2 separate regions of the Homo sapiens genome follow, and region 1 is linked to region 2. Evidence: promoter capture Hi-C in human tissues and cell types (Jung and others, 2019). All regions are on one chromosome and are shown on one strand. The core of a region is centred on a gene start or on the middle of the fragment in contact, and the rest is flanking DNA. Distances in the headings are between cores, read along the strand shown.

Evidence for each region. The method cuts DNA at HindIII sites, captures the fragments that hold promoters and counts their contacts. A contact is called where the count stands out against the background at its distance.
Region 1: a fragment that was not itself captured here is called in contact with the fragment with the promoter of TRIM13 in region 2 in 2 of the 25 tissues and cell types used here (dorsolateral prefrontal cortex and spleen).

The regions. Positions count from the first base shown.
Region 1 is chr13:50,527,180-50,530,019 of GRCh38, reverse strand. DLEU1 (deleted in lymphocytic leukemia 1) reads right to left here. Exons shown (of 7, transcript NR_109974.1): 6 at 1,956-2,154; 7 at 1,377-1,840. DLEU1-AS1 (DLEU1 antisense RNA 1) reads left to right here and starts at 2,571. Exons shown (of 3, transcript NR_125753.1): 1 at 2,571-2,741. RefSeq lists enhancers at 1-359, 360-1,048, 1-1,188. The HindIII fragment of the contact is 3,495 bases long and covers 1-2,840 here.
Region 2 is chr13:49,995,437-49,998,310 of GRCh38, reverse strand. TRIM13 (tripartite motif containing 13) reads right to left here and starts at 1,269. Exons shown (of 2, transcript NM_213590.3): 1 at 548-1,269. DLEU2 (deleted in lymphocytic leukemia 2) reads left to right here. Exons shown (of 14, transcript NR_152566.1): 11 at 892-1,237. It overlaps MIR3613 (microRNA 3613), which reads left to right and starts at 1,810; the gene lies at 1,810-1,896. RefSeq lists silencers at 1,533-1,662, 2,253-2,302 and an enhancer at 1,843-1,972. The HindIII fragment of the contact is 11,924 bases long and covers 1-2,874 here.

The sequences.
Region 1 (2,840 bases), core at 264-2,763, 530 kb before region 2:
ATGTTATTTGGTTTTATATGGCCTCCCAAACTACAGTGTTTTTAAAAATCAGGTTTATCGAGTTATAATTTACATACAGTAGAATTCACCCTTTTCAGGCACACAGTTCTACAAATTTTTACAAGCATATACAGTCGAGTAATCACCACCTCAATCAAGACAGAATATTTCCGACACCCTGAGAAATTATCTGTGCCCCTTTGAAGTCAATCTCCTTCCTCTCACCCTCAGCCCCTGGCAATCTCTGATTTATTTCTGTCACTGGATATTCTGCATAGCTTCCAATCTATGTTTTTCAAGCTTCCAATCGGAGTCAAAGCTGGCCAGTAGCAACTAGCACAGAGTCCTCTGCTGCTCTTTTGAAACCACCTTTTCTTTGCTGACAACCAACAGATCAGTCTCCATAGTCAGCAAAGCTGAACTCCAGCTTTAGACACAGGCCAATTCCTCCCGTAAAACTTGGCCTGGCGTCAACTGGGCGGACATGCCCGGACAAGCCTGCTGGGGTAGCCGCGCCCGCAGGAGGGGAGGTCCTTACAACATGGAGCACCAGTTGCACACTGTCCCCTTTTGAGCTCTGTTCTCCTTTTTAGTTTGGAAGTCTGTGCGTATGTGTACATGTGTGTGGGTGCATGCATTGCAGAGCCCCAGTATACTTTGACATGTTTTCTGCATCTACAGTGTGAGTAATACAGTGGAGGGTAGATGAGCCAGCCCCTTCTGAGAAATACAGTAGTCCTCTTTGAACCTCTCCTCCTCCTGTCATCTGATTGCTGGATGGCGTTAGCCTGTGGTGTACTGGTGAGAGCCGGAAGGTCTGGGACTGGATCCCTCCTACTGAGTCAAAATACAACATAAAAACCTTGGGGGAGGATCTGAGGCTGAGAACCAGCTTCAGAAAATTATAAGTTGCCAAAGAAACACAATTTTAAGCATCATGTCTGAAGGAGTTAGGAAGGTTTTTCACTTTTGTCATTTCTGCTAAGGTCCTCTTTCTCCTCTGATACTTCTTTCCCCAGCTTTCTCCACATGATTTGGGCTGCTTTCCTAGTTCCCTTAAATACCGGTGTAAAGAAACCTGTCTGTGGTTTTATGTTACCCCATTGGAGTGTTGCATGTGAATATAGGGCATAAAAGGGGATAAATTGCCTAACTCAATCCACCCTCGAGGCCTGCCACATTAAAAAGATATACCACGGAACTTTCGTCTGCCCTGAAATGATTGGAAATACTGTGAGACTGCAGAGTTTAATGAAAACTCTGAGTCTCAACTTGAAGTAGATAGATAACTCTCTGATCTACTCTTGGGCCTATATATAACATTTTATATTTGTCAAGGCCGCTCAACATTCACGGTTAATAATTAGTCCTGGAAGAATATTTATAGCTTATGTTAATTCTTATCCCGGAGACATGCAAGGTTCAAAATAGGTGGGATAAAAGCACATTTGGGTAGGCTTAAATTCAAACCCACAGGCACTATGTACAGAAAAAGGCACTAGGTGTTTTTTAAATTGACTCAGAAAAAGTTAAAATGGAGAAACTTCTATCTGCTCACTTGGTCCTTCATGGGGAATTCTACCACTTCCCTTGGTCCAGCTCACTCAAGGCCAGTGCCATGACAACTCCTGGGTTGAGAATCACTGATTTAAATGGCATTTGACCACATCTGTCCCCACTTGTGGCTCTCTGCTCTGTAGATTTGCTGACTCACAGAGTCCACCGGCAGAGATGCTGACAGGCATGAACTGGTTGCATGACACTTGGAAGGCATAGCGGGACATCTGCCTCACCAGCTTCCTTCAGGTGTTCCACTGAGCCCCAGCATTCAAATTTCCATCTGTGGGAGAGGAAGGGAAGGGAAGGCTCTGGTCTGTGGTACCGTAGGATTCCAGTGATGCCTCTTAAGCATCCCCCACCATTCTCTGATCGTTTCCCACATGCAAAGTGCCAACCTGGTCGTGCAACAGTGTACACATGTGGTGAACACCAGGCGCCCTCCCATGAGACTTCTGCAGCATTCCAGCACTCCATCCTCCCCCAGCTTCCAGTTTAGGACAGGTCCAGGAGAGGAATGGTGAGGACAGAGTTAAACGCAACTTTTGCTTCATTGTGGGTTCCTTCTTCCTGTCCTCCCGGCCATCAGACCTCCTCCTATAAACAGATGTGTGCTCAGATTAACTACTTTTTGGAAAAAACAAGGAAATGATAATACTAGAAAAACTTTATTGAACTAATGTTTGTCTATGTACCAGGAACTGTGCTAAATACATCACATTTATCTCATTCAATTCTGACAAGAACCCTACACAGACAGGTGTTGCTGCTGTAGATGGGAAAACTGTGGCACAGAGGTGAAAAAGTCTTACCTATACAGATACATTGCATCAAAATTCAAGCCGAGGTTCTGACCCCAAAGCCTGTGCTCCAAACTAGAGTCCTCCTGTGCACATTTCACGTCTGGAATTATTATAAAGCATTTTGCAATGACTAAAATAGGCACATGAATGAAGACGTATCCAGGTCTGCCTGAGAGGAGACTCGAAGCCAAAGCCCAGCTCAGCAAGGCCAGAGAATTTCAGTGTATCCCCGCGGGGCGCTGGAACTTCGTCTGGGTGCATTTGTTTTTATAAGCCTGGGTACTGCAGAGTCATTTAAAAACATGTGCTTGCCAGGGCAGAACATCATCTGATGGCAGCAACCACCTGGTGCTGGCCACGACTGAGGAGGGAACACATCAGGTGAGTGTGGGCCAACCCTTCCTGCACAGAACAGGAGGGCGGGGAGGGGGGGGGATGCTTGATTTTTAGTGGGAAGGATGAGGAAAGCAGTTCTGAAAT
Region 2 (2,874 bases), core at 20-2,519:
ACAGCCCGGTTTTAGGAAAGGACTTCCCAGGGAGGTTTAGTAAGCCAGCTGGGAGAAAGGAAAAAAAACGTATTTTTAGGGAGGGATAGGGACGCTCCCATTGTGCAAGAAGGAAGTATAGCCGGTTAACAGCTCCATCAAGTTCTACTAGAAGGAGTGCCTATGTAAATGAAATTCTGCTTTTAAAGTGCCTATTATATAAAGGTCTCTAGAAAACTCAAGCCCTGTTCTACAAGCCCTAGCAGCCTGACAATTCACTAAGCATAGGAGAAGGGAAAAAAAAGTAGGAAAAAAGTGTGGAAGCCCCTTTCTTCCTTTGTAATATGAATGTTTGGCTATATTTAAGATAAATACCACATAAATAATTGCTAAACGTGAATTCTGTTTTTCTAAGTTTTAACAAAATATGCAAAGAACAAAGACCACCAATGAAAGTGGATGGGAACATACGTATTCTACACACAGTTCCATTTTGGAAGGTTCTAGGGCCTATTGAAATTGGGTGTTTAAAAAAAAAAGATAACACAGGAAAATTATTGTAGTTTACCTCTGTCTCCTACAAGCTGATGTATTTGGCAGGGTTACTATTTCCCAGGGCAAAGCAGGTCTTTTTTTTCACGTTTTGACTAACGAACTAGAGGCTACTGCAAAGAAAGAAGAAAAAGAACAGTATTAACGCATTTATTTGCACAGCACCCCAATCTTGACCCTCAATTTTTTCAATCGCCCCCACAAATAAAGCCCGGCTGTTTAGACCTGGTGAACCGCCAGGAGCCTGGAGCTCTTTGTATTAAGCAGCTTCTCGGTTAGGGCGCCCTCCCCCGGCGCCATGCAACCAAACGCTGGCGGCGCGCTGTAACCTAAGGCCCACACCCGTCTTTTCTTTTCTAGGGGATGTGGAGACGCTGGTAGCGGGGCCAGGAAGGCTCCGGACGGAGCAGGTTTTCTGGACCACAGACACACTGCCCCGGCGCCCTCCGCAGGCCGCTCCTCCCCAGGCCCATGACAGTGCCCCGCTGGTTTCTGCCGCGCTGCCGGACTGGAGCTCAGACGGCCTTCGCCAGCCCCCCCAACCCACGCAGATCCCTGCTGACCTGGGCAACTCCCCACCCTCGCTGAAGGTTCGAGGACCACCCCGCTTTCCCGAGAGGAGCCGGGCGGCGGGTACTTATCTCCGACCTCCGGCTAGTGGGAAAGGCCGCGCGACCGCCCGTCCTCCAACTACAGGGACCGCACGGTACGCGCCAAGCACAGCCCCAAAATGGACTCGCGGCTCCGGCTAGCTCCGCCCCCTTCCCTCTCCCGCTTCCCCTTCCCCTCCCGTCCCTTCCCCCTCCCCTCCCGTCCCTTCCCCCTCCCCTCCCGTCCCTTCCCCCCTCCCCCTCCCTTTCCCCTCCCCCTCCCCCTCCCTTTCCCCTCCCCCTCCCCCTCCCTTCCCCGTCGCCCGCCTCCGCCTGCACCTCCGGCCCCGCCTCCCCGTCCCGCTTCGCCTGTGTCCCGCCTCCCCGGCCGCGCCTCGCCTTGGCGGAGGGAGCCGGGTGGTGAGACCGCGTTCCTTCCGGCGTCTCCAACCGCCGCCTGCTCCCGCCGTCCACCCGCGCGGGCCGCCTGGGACGGGGAGGGCCGGGCTGCGGGCTTTTCTCCCTTCCAGAGTCCTGCGCCCGCCCAAAGCCCCCCCGCAGAGGCTGGGCAGCGGCTCCGGGAAGTGGACGCCGTTTGCCCAGACGGTGGGCTCGACTGAAGCGGCGCGGTCCCGGGTGGGGCCGCCCGGGAAGAAAGTCTCCCAGTTAAGCTGCCGTGCAATTAAGATGGTTGGGTTTGGATTGTTGTACTTTTTTTTTTGTTCGTTGCATTTTTAGGAACAAAAAAAAAAGCCCAACCCTTCACACCACTTCATCCGCATCTCAAGACCAGAAGCCGACCCCAGCGGCTTGGGGAAATGGAGCCCCGCACCCCACAAGGGGGAGGGTGGGACGGGCACCTCCGCACTGCGCGGCCTGCGGAGTCACCGATTCGCGTTGGGAGCGCGCCAGGAGCGCCAGGGCTCTAGCCGGGGGCTCCGGGCAAGGCGCAACCAGAAAAGGGTTCAGTATCCCCCATCACCCCCACCCCCAACCGTACCCTCTTTCTTTGCGGGCTTTAGGCAGGACACCAGAGACCCAATTCTATTTAAAATTCTCTTTTAAGAAAAGGAACGCCTGTTTTTGCCTTTGGGGGAAAGGATGAACTTTCAAATTGGCTTTAAATTATCCACCACTAACAGTTACTCAGTCGATAACCTGACTATTCTGACGTCCACCTCCCGTTTGAGGACCTTGCCCAATAGCAAACGTACTAAGCACTTAACCAGTGAACGGTGTGAAGGATGCAAACATGGATGATGAAGGAATGGCTCCTCCAGAATTTACGATCTTGGGAGAAGTGAGGCGAGTATAGAATCTCAGAACACGCTGTAGGATTGAGTTCGATCCCAGTTGAGGAAGTTTGGGTTTGGGGAGGAAATAGGTTATTTTGGAGAAACGGTATTCAAAACCTACCATAAATAGCAGTACAGCCCGTTGACTAATAATGCTTAGCCCAACCCCCGTAAAAAGCCCCTGGCCACATCCGTCTCCTGAGATTCCCACTTCTCTGTGTGCATCTCCCTTCCTGCTATAAGAAACCTAACTTTGCCTTCGTAGAACACTTCTTTTAATTTCTGTCATTCAGTCTCATAACACTGTGTAAAAGAAATTATGATCTTCATCCTATATAGATGAGAAAACAGGTGAAGTGACTTTTCCAAGGTACAAAAGCAAGAGGCAGAGCTGAGGCTAAAGGCAGCTTCCAGATATGGGCTCTTTCTACAGCACCATAACTGTCAGTGACAAAACT